3 separate regions of the Homo sapiens genome follow, and regions 1 and 2 are each linked to region 3. Evidence: promoter capture Hi-C in human tissues and cell types (Jung and others, 2019). All regions are on one chromosome and are shown on one strand. Each heading gives the region's core, a stretch centred on a gene start or on the middle of the fragment in contact. The rest is flanking DNA. Distances are from core to core; before and after follow the strand shown.

Evidence for each region. The method cuts DNA at HindIII sites, captures the fragments that hold promoters and counts their contacts. A contact is called where the count stands out against the background at its distance.
Region 1: a contact is called between a fragment that was not itself captured here and the fragment with the promoter of GYG1 in region 3, in 1 of the 25 tissues and cell types used here (H1 embryonic stem cells).
Region 2: a contact is called between a fragment that was not itself captured here and the fragment with the promoter of GYG1 in region 3, in 1 of the 25 tissues and cell types used here (neural progenitor cells).

What each region holds. Positions count from the first base shown.
Region 1 is chr3:149,352,547-149,356,089 of GRCh38, forward strand. No RefSeq gene overlaps it. Among named protein-coding and RNA genes, the nearest start is that of TM4SF18, 21 kb to the left of the region's middle. The HindIII fragment of the contact is 4,261 bases long and covers 1-3,543 here.
Region 2 is chr3:149,404,112-149,407,394 of GRCh38, forward strand. LOC105374151 (a long non-coding RNA gene) reads right to left here and starts at 679. Exons shown (of 3, transcript XR_924574.3): 1 at 507-679. The HindIII fragment of the contact is 7,007 bases long and covers 1-3,283 here.
Region 3 is chr3:148,989,671-148,992,954 of GRCh38, forward strand. It overlaps GYG1 (glycogenin 1), which reads left to right and starts at 1,870. Exons shown (of 8, transcript NM_004130.4): 1 at 1,870-1,977. The coding sequence starts at 1,971. RefSeq lists silencers at 1,509-2,558, 2,592-2,886. The HindIII fragment of the contact is 14,804 bases long and covers 1-3,284 here.

The DNA of each region.
Region 1 (3,543 bases), core at 391-2,890, 360 kb after region 3:
CCTGAAGTGTACCTCTCAACGGCCCAAGTTTGGGTTTAGGCTAGCCAGGCATCTTCAACCCAAGGGGAGAGATCATTGGTCAGGGCTGTCTTTACTGCTCTAGACCACACGGTGTCACTGTTGAAGACCAGTTGGTTCACCAAACATCTCTGCTGTGAGGAGCCGGGGGTGGGGCGGTGGTGCCAGTCCCTGCTGGGGCCACATGGCCCTTTTTGGAGGACAATGGCCTCCCACAACATGTAGCTCTGCCCGGGGCCCCAGTGTGGCAGCCCTTTAAATTCATAAAATCAGTTTACGTACACCGGAGCTGGCCCCAGAAGCTTTGAGTCAAATGGATTCCACTGTTTACAGAACTGCCTCCCATTGTTTCTTTCTAATCATGGCCAAGGGATAGGTGGCAGTGTTATTTCCAACACAACTCTGCAACTCAGAAAACATAAAGGGTCTCTCTAATACCACCTTTTTCTAGACAATCTAGGTTACTCACCCTTTACTTACCTCTCTTCTGTGGTTTAAATGATATGTATCCCCTTAAGAAAAAACTCCTCCTGGGAGTTCATAAGGCTATTTTTCATCCTGGCCCATAAGAAAAAGTTGCTTGCACTTCTCTTACTAAAAACTGAAGAGCCACAAGAGAAAATTAGCTTCTCTTACAGGGCTAAGATAAAATAATACCAAATATATTTTCATTCATTTTTATATTTTAGTAAAGTTATAGATCTGTGATATAATACCTTTGTGATTTTAAATATATCTAATCCCTCAGGGGTATTTTATCCTTTTATTTTCCCCACCCTCAGACCTGCCCACATTTCCACCATACTCTGCTTAAATATTGTCTGGCCTAATGCCATGTTTATTGAGAAGGAAGTGAACTTGATCAAGTCAGGGGCAAATGTGAGACTGAGGGCCCTGACTACTAGTACTTGCTCTTTCCACAGCATGATCCTGTGTCTCCATTTCTGGAGGTATTATTAGGTTTGGAAGGCTGAAGAATTACGTACAGACTGGATGGAAGCTGGAAGTGAGTCGAGGTGGGTGGTTAAGTTAGGTCTGTCAGCATCTGCACTGGTTTTCTACTTTCCAGCACTGAATACACAAGCATTTGACCAGGGGCCACTGAGTTCCAATTGCAACTGGTCATTGGAGCCACCTCACTCTGCTCTCTATTTTCCATGTCCCTCTCTCCACCCCAGGTACTTGTGAGGTTCCCACCATGTCCACTCATAGCAACCATGTATTATTGTTTTGACCACCTGGAATCTCCTTTTTCTTGCCTTTTGAGAACTACCCTCTAGCATTCATGTGATCCTGTTCAGTTGGCCAATCACAGTGGTCTGTTCCAGCTACCCACTGAATTAGGTAGATAGACTTTGCATGGACTGTCAAAATATCTCAACTCCGGGGCCACAGTGAGTTGTCCTTGTGACCTATCTTAAACCTTTTGTACTGCTATAACAAAATACTATGCTCTGGGTCATTTATAAACAATAGAAATTTATTTCTCACAGTGCCTGGAAGCTGAGCTGTCCAAGGTCAAAACAGTGGAATTTGGTGTCTGATGAGGGCCTTTTTGTTGTGTCCTCATATGACAGAAGCCAGAAGGACATAAAAGGGCCTAAGTTAGCTTTTTTCAGCATTTCTTTCCAAACAGATATCAGTAAAATTCTAAGATTTTCCAACTTGATACAAGATAGGTGAAAGCTCTTCATCTGTCACCAACAATACCAACTAGTCAGACACAAAATACACTCTTCAGCATCTTTCTCTCATTCCAGTTGCCACTCCAGATATACAACTGGAGTTGACATAGACTGAAGTTATTGAGTTTGATGATAATACAAATTCAAGTGTAGACTCAATCTCTTTCAACAGCATCCACATGAGGTAAAAAGGAAAGAAACTAACACTTATTTCTTATTTTATTTTCATCATTCAGTGTGTTGAGTTCTACGATGGCCAGTCTCCAAGGTGGTTCCCAGTGATCCCTGCCTCCTGTGTAGTCCCTTCCCATCTTGTACTATTGTTGCCCAGTGTGACCAATAGGATATGAAAGAAGGAATAATAGGTAACTTCCAAGATTAGGTATAAAAGACTGCAGCTTCCATCTTGGGCTCTCTTTCTCATCACTCACTGTAGAAGAAGCCAGTTGCCTTATTGTAAGAAGCTCTGTGGAGAGGCTCACAGTGTGGAGAACTGAAGCCTTCTACCAACAGCTGTGTGGGTGATTTTGGAAGTGGATCCTCCACTAGCAAGCCGTAGATGACAGCAGACCCAGCTGACACCTTGACTGTAACCTCTTCAGAGACCCTGAGGCAGAACCTGAGCTAATCTGCTCCTGGATTCCTGGCCCGCAGAAACTGTGAGAAAAAAACTGTTGTTTTAAACTCTTATGTTTTGAAGTAATCTGCTATGTAGCAGTAAATAATGAATAAGTGCTTTTCCAAGGTTACCCCCTGAACAATCCTGAGAGATAGTTACTGTCATATTTAACTTAATCTGAGATGCCTCAATTTGAAGATGACCCATCTATGAGCCCTTCTGTCCATGAGCTAGTCTATGAAATAGTTAAAAGGGCAAAAAATGCTGCTAATGAATCTATGACCTGCCCTCAATTGTAAGATACACGCAAATTTCAGGTATGTTATCGGGTGACAAAAATGTGCATCTTATAATTGATGAAACATATTATCTGCATTTTGTAACAGGGATTTCTTCTCATACACTGGGAAAATAAAAGCTTTCTTTTCATCCTCATTATTCGGCTTGATGAGGAGTAGCCAGTCAGTATATGTTTGTTGAAAGGTTTTGTTCTTAATAGAGATGGATATAACATGACTTCTAGGATAAAGCAGGACTCAGAAGAGAGTTTTTTGTTTGTTTGTTTGTTTGTTTTTGAGATGGAGTCTTGCTCTGTCGCCCAGGCTGGAGTGTAGTGGCGTGATCTTGGCTCACTGTAAGCTCCGCCTCCCGGGTTCACGCCATTCTCCTGCCTCAGCCTCCCGAGTAGCTGGGACTACAGGCGCCCGCCACCACACCCAGCTAACTTTTTGTATTTTTAGTAGAGACGGTCTACTAAAAATACAAAAAGCAGAGGATGGTCTCAATCTCCTGACCTCGTGATCCGCCCGCCTCGGCCTCTCAGAGTGAACACAGATCTTGTTCTTAACTATTAATCCGCATGGGAAGTGTTTTGAAGACATAAATTCTTCTCATTCTCATGTTAATCAAAGGAAGGCTCTTTTCCAGATTCTTAATCAGCACTGTCCTCTACATTTTATTCTGCTTAATTGAGAATGTACTGCCTATGGGACCCTTTAAAAATCAGCCTAAGGCAGTTCCCAGCTCCTTAGAATAACTGACACTGAATGTCTACTCCATGCCAGCATTCTCACTTACGTTACCTGAGCCAGACATTATCATTCCCGTCGGACATATGAGGGAAGAGAAGCTGAAGGATGCTATGAAACTTGCTTAAGATCACAAAACTAAAAAATGATAGAAGCTGGAGTTCTACCAGGCTGTTCTCACTGCTCCCCTTCC
Region 2 (3,283 bases), core at 736-3,235, 410 kb after region 3:
CAGCATATATATAAATATAGTATTTTGAGACATAGTGAAATAATATTGGATAACAAAGACCTAAGTGGAAATACAATGTATGTTTAGATTATTTAAAATAATTTAATAATAGTAAATAATTATCCCCAAATTAATTTATCATCCTGAACTATTTGAATCATTTAGCACTTAGGAAATTTTTTAATTTCCCAGTGTTTCGGGAACTTTTCCCAAGAGTATTGATTCCAGTGTACTTTGATTGTGAGGAAATGCTGTGAAACAAGTCTTGTTATCTCCATATTCAGAGGCATCCAATGTTGTGATTGTTCTTAGAAAGATTATAAAAGTCATAAAACTTACCACAGTGAAGAGAATTAATAAAATACTTTTATAATATCTATTGTCTGTGTCTGAAAGAGTTAATGCTAAGGGTAATGTGGCTGTTAGGTGGGGTTCTGAGGAAATAGCGGGAGAGGCCCTGGTGAGGCGTCTCCATGAGAACCTACCCCACAAACCCATTCACTTACCCATAGCAAGAGATTTCCAGAGCAAAACCTCCTTGGATGTGTAAGGAGGAAGGAAGGAAAAATCAAACCAGTGGAGCCAAATTTGCTTCTCTATGATTTCTTTTTGGGTCACCATCAGTCAGAGGTGTGTGCCTTTTCCCAGCTGTCAATAACCTGAGTCATAAGAGAAGGAAGATAGCAGATCACCCAGAGGAGGTGATGAACCATAGCCAATCAATTTTTGCAGGAAATGGTGTGGGCATTTGAAGAGAGATTAAACATGCGCACAGGAGCCAGGGGGAGGTCTGGTGTCTACCCCCTGAATGGAGTTTCCAAAAGTTGTACATTTTACAAACAAATGTGGTGCATCTTATAAGGCTTAATGTTTTTAGGAAACGACTTTGATATGACAATTGTGAAGGCTATGATGAAAAGACAAAACAGAAAACCGTGTAAAAGTAGGAGCCTGACATTACAAAGAATGACACCTTTGTGTGTTGCTCCCCCAACAGCCAGCACCAGGCCTTGCTTTCCAGCTAGCGCTACTGCAGGTTTATACTCTCTGAAGTTAGACGCTGGTTATTCCCCAGAGCAAAGCAAGGGATATAAACAAAAAAGAAAAAAGAAAAGAAAAAGGAAGAAAAGAAAAGCACCCATCCACCTGAGTTAGAATCTTAGCTGCCATTCTCTAACTTGACTCGGTTACTTGGCTGACTCTGTTTCCTCACCTGCAGGATGGAGTTTTTTAAAACACCTACCTCCCAGAGCACTATAAAAATTTAATAAAATAAAGTTTGTGTCTCAGCTTGGGTTCCCAGAAGAGACCTGAAACTAGGACTTGAGTGCAAGTAGTTTATTTGGAAGGTTAAGGGAACACTCAAAGAGGAGTGGGAGCTCAGATAAAGGAAAGGAAGGAGCTCTTCAAAGGAGCATTAGCCGAGCCTGGGCAACATAGTGTAAACTTGTCTCTACGAAAAAAGATAATAAAAAAATTAGCTGGGTGTTGTGGTACATGCCTGTAGTCCCAGCTTCTCGGGAGGCCAAGGTGGGAGGCTGACTGTAGCCCGTAAGATAGAGGCTGCAGTGAGCTGTGATCGTGCCACTGCACTCCAGCCTGGGCAACAGAGCAAGCCCCAGTCTCAAAAAATTACACAAAAAAACTATTAGCAAGCCACCTTTCCCTGTGTGTTACTGGAGCTTAGAATATCACTAATAATTCTTTGAAAGAAGGAAAAAAGTCAGAAAATATATATGCATATATACAAATACACATGTATATTTGTTCATGCAAAAAATATATTTAAACACAAAAATGTGTTAGAGAGGTTGCCTCTGAGGAAGAAAATTGGAGGACAGGGAAACATGAGTAAGAGGCATACTTAAATTTGCTCATATCACCTCCCGTACATCAAATTTTCCGTGCTTATGTATACTTTTAAATTAAGAAAATTGACAAAGTTTGCTAATACTGATTTTTCCCTAGCCCACTCCCTTTTCTTCATTAATCTTCAGGTTCATTACCTGACAAACTCAGTGTTATAGAATAACTTCTAAAAGTTTTAAATGTGAAGCTGGGCTGAGTGGCTTGCATCCCGTAATCCCAGTCACTCGGAAGGCTGAGGCAGACTTGCTTGAAGCTAGGAGTTTGAGACCAACCTGGGCAACATAGTAAGACCCGTCTCTATTTGAAGAAAAAAAAAGGAAAGGAAGAAAGAAAGAGAGAGAGAGAAAGAAAGAAAGAAAAAAAGAAAGAAAGAAAGAAAAAAGAAAGAGAAAGGAAGGAAGGAAGAAAGAAAGAAAAAAGAAAGAAAGAAAGAGAAAAGAAGGAAGAAAGGAAGAAAGAAAGAAGGAAAGAAAGGAAGAAAGAAAGAAAAAAGAAAGAGAAAAGAAGGAAGGAAGAAAGAAGGAAAGAAAGAAAGAAGGAAAGAGAGAGGAGAGAGAGAGGGAGGGAGGGAGGAAGGAAGGAAGGAAGGAAAGTTCTATATGGGAAACAACCCAAATGTCCATCAATGGATGTATGAATAAACAAGTCATGATCTATATGAGGGAATATTATTCGGCCATAAAAAGAAATGGAGTACTGACACACAGTACAATGTGGATGAACCTCAAAAATATGCTAAGTAGAAGACATCAGACACAAAATTCACATATCTTATGATTCCATTTATAAAAAATATCCAGAAGAGGTATCCACGGAGATCAAAAGCAGATTTGTGGTTCCTAGGGACAGCGGTTAGGGGAGAATGAGGAATAACTGCTTAATAGATATAAAGTTTCATTTGGGGATGATGAAAATGTTTTAGACTTACAGGTGGTGGTTGCAAAATACTGTGAATGTACTAAATGCCAGTAAATTGTTCACTTTAAATGGTTAATTTTATGTTACGTTAATTTCACCTCAATGAAAAAAATTAAAAAGTCTTATAATCATAAAAGGAATAAATCGATGCCCACTTTAGGTTTAAAGAACAGAGGTTTAAAAAGGAAGAAAAGAGACAGGAAAGAAGGAAGAAAGGGAAGAAGGGAGGGAGACACAAAGAAAAGGAGAAAGGACCACTCCTATATCCACCATTCAGGGAAATTCATCATTAATATTTTGAGTTAATATTTTGGTATATTGGTATTACCTTGCAGTCTGATAATAATAGTCAAATATATTCCAGTCGCACAATGCTTGGTATTACATAACCTTCCAGTCCTTTTTTCTCTACACAAATAAACTTTTTTTAAAGAAAATAAAACATGATATTATGTTGTCTATATGTTTACATCTCCTGCTTTGTTCATTTAATATA
Region 3 (3,284 bases), core at 620-3,119:
TTCACCTCTCAGTCTGCAAAAGAGCAATCAGACTGAGAAGTACCTCTCTTTGTTTTCCCTCTCCCCACTTAAGATACAAAAGTGTAGCCTTTGTGTTCCTTAAAGAGCTCCAACTCTTCTATGTCTATATCTTTTGAATAAGTGGAAACCCATCTATTGCCCTTTCCACTTTTCTGTTTCCTACAACGGAAGCACATAATGCCAAGTAACTGGGAGGGCCTCCCATGTGATCAGCGGTCTCTAGGCCATGGTCAAGACTAGGAAGGACTCAAGAGAGGCTCCTGGAAGGTGATATTTAAAATACTGATTTTAAGGTTCTACCCTTAAGATTCTTTTTGTTTTGTAACCTGTTTTTCTTCAAATAATATATTTTGAACAGCTTTTTATATTAAAAATATATAATGATTATGCCTACAGAGTATTTCATTACCTCAAGAGTATATGACGCGACTTCAAAAAGTCCATAGAATATACATATTATAAAAAAAAAATGCATGGATTTCAAAATTATTTTGCACCAAAATAAACCTACCCTTAAGATTCTGATTCAGGAGGTCTGGGCTTAGGCCCAAAAATCTACGCTTTAACCAGTGCCCCCAAGTGATTCTGATGTAGGAGATCCACACCCACACACGAGGAAACAGTGATATAACTGGTTTGAGGACAGCAGTACCACCTTTGCAAATAAATCACTTATTCTTAAGCATCTGTTTTGCTTTTTGAACTGATGTCAACTTCCTGATTGGTTTCCAAATGGCTTTGCAGTACTCATTCAACATTTACCGAGCAATTTCAGTTTTCAGTTTGCAGAGAACTGAACTACCCGAGGCTTGTTCTGTGTTTGGACTGGGGATGGGGAGCAGAGAAGGATGTGATCACATTAAAGCTATTTCTCAACTTCCTAGAAAAATGACAAATTGACCATTTCAAGATTTGTGAAACAGGTTAGCATTGGCTAACCACAGTTACAATAATTTACTAACCTTTTTGGAGCCCCTGTGTACAAGAGGCACCAAGACTTTCTGGGTGGGAAGGTTGATTCTGTAACCAAACTGCCAGGGTTTAAATCCTACTTTCTCCATTTATATTATATGACTATAGAAAAGTTAGCACTTTGGGAGGCTAAGGCTGGCAGATCACTTGAGGCCAGGAGTTCCAGACCAGGCTGGCCAACATGGTGAAACTCTGTCTCTACTAAAAATACAAGAAAAAAAAGAAAAGAAAAGTTAATTTAACTTTTCTGAGCTCAGTTTCCTCCTCGTCTGTAAAATGAATATGTAACACCTCACTGAGTTCGTACAAGGATTAAATGAAGCACTTAAATGCCTAATTGATGCAGATGGCTCCAAGAATTTAACATTTACGAAATATTCACTATATTTTTTAGGTTAAGGGTACAAAACCATTGTGAGTACACTAAGGAATGATTATAGAGGCTGATCGAAATTCTGCAAAAAAAGCGTAAATTTTACGTTTCATTCAAGCAGTTCAGACTCACGATTTTAACTAGAGTAATCTGGGGTTTGTTTGCTTGTTTTTTAAGGTTCCCTAACCCTTGGCTTCTTGGGGAGTTTGATGCCGCACTCAGCCCCAAAGTCCCCCTTAACTCCCAGGTTTAGCGGCGACAGGGGGCGCGCGGTTGACAAGGGCAGGCGCCCCGGGGAAGTAGGAGCAGGGGCGCCGGTGAGCCGCAGCCGCAGCGGCAGCCTAGCCCCGAGGGAGGGAGGAGGAGCCGAGGGAGACGCGGGACCCGGAGCCCCGCGGGCCACCGCCCCTGCCGGCCGCGCAGCTGGGAGGATGCGGACGGCAGCGAGAGCGTGCGCGGCCACGTGACGGCCGCTATAAGAGCGCACGGGGCAGACGCTCGGTTCCCCGCCGTGCCTCCTCGCTGGCCGCGCTCCCTCCCGGTGCCGGCTTCTCTGAGTCACCAACCTGAGGCTGCCCCGGCCGCCTGCGCACCCGGCAGCACCATGACAGGTACCGCCGCGCAGCCCGCCGCCGCCAGCCCCGGGACCCCGGCTTCCTGCCCAGCCGCCGCCTCCCTTCTCCTCCGCCCTCAGCCCCGGAGTGTTCCCGGCAGGACGAAACCGCCGCAAAGTTGCTGGCTGGCCGCAGCCGGGCGTGTTTCTGCCTGCGTCAGCTGCCGCCCCGCCGCCCCCCAGAGTGCAGGGATGGGGCAGCCGGGCAGAGCCCGGGCCCTCGGCCGGAGCTCTCGTTCCTGCTTCCGTCTCCTCGTCCTTCCTCTTGCTCTCACGGCGAAGGGCCGGCGGGCGGAGCAGCTGCGGCGGGGCCGTGTGGGGGTGGGGAGCCGGTTCCCCTGGGGGTTCCAGGCGGGAGTCCGGGGCGCAGCGGCATCGTGGGGAGCTGCCCCGGCCTCTGGCGGCCCGGAACCCCAGGAAGCAGGGGCTCCGAGGCGGGGATACTGCGGCCTCCGCCCGGCTCCTCCGCCGCCCGCCCCGGCCCCGGCCGCCACGCTGAGCCTATTTTTAGGCCTTTGGGGCCGGGTTGCGGGAAGCCGGGAGTCGGACTAGCGTCCCCGGGCGCGAGCCCCGTCTGGTGGGAGGGCGCCGGCTTTGGCTTCACTTGTTGCGAGGCGTCCGGGCCACTCCACGAGTTAGCCCCAGCACTGGGAAGCTCCGAGTTAGCTGGTCCTTCCGTGTCATTGAGGCTAATAGCCAGGGTTATTACAGCAGTTGAACTGCCACAAAGATTGCAGGTGTAACCCAGAGTTCAGCCGTCTTTAGGAAGATTAAACTCCTACCCAGCTGTCATTGGTCTTTCTTGGTCATTTGTAATGTTGGCTAGTCTGGTGTTCTAACCTGTGTTCTATCCCTTATTTAATCTTGGAAATCATCCATATCCTTGCTTCCAGAAATCCTTGAATCCTGCTCACCTTATTACATTTTTCTCCATGATCGCCTGGAACCTGGACTTCATTTGAGTTAGATGATCATTCATTTTGCCTAGCTTAAGTATTTTTGGTACAGATTGACAGCGATGTTACCCATGTTATAATGGGCTGAAGATAATAGAAGCAAGTACAGGCGGATGTTGATGGGCCTGTCAAGGGACAGGTGCCACTGTTCAGAGCTTTCCTAGAGTGTGAGTGACTGGGAAGCTGGTGGCCCTTCGGGGGTGGGGAACTGGTCTTCCTACAACTTAGTAGTTGGCCTGCCGTGGGAGAGGGCCTAATAAAATGTGTGAAGATGGCTCTCAGGTCAGCAGCCGAGGGATGCGCTGGCCCACTAGGCAACCCACAACTTCCTCTCATGTCTCGGTGGAAT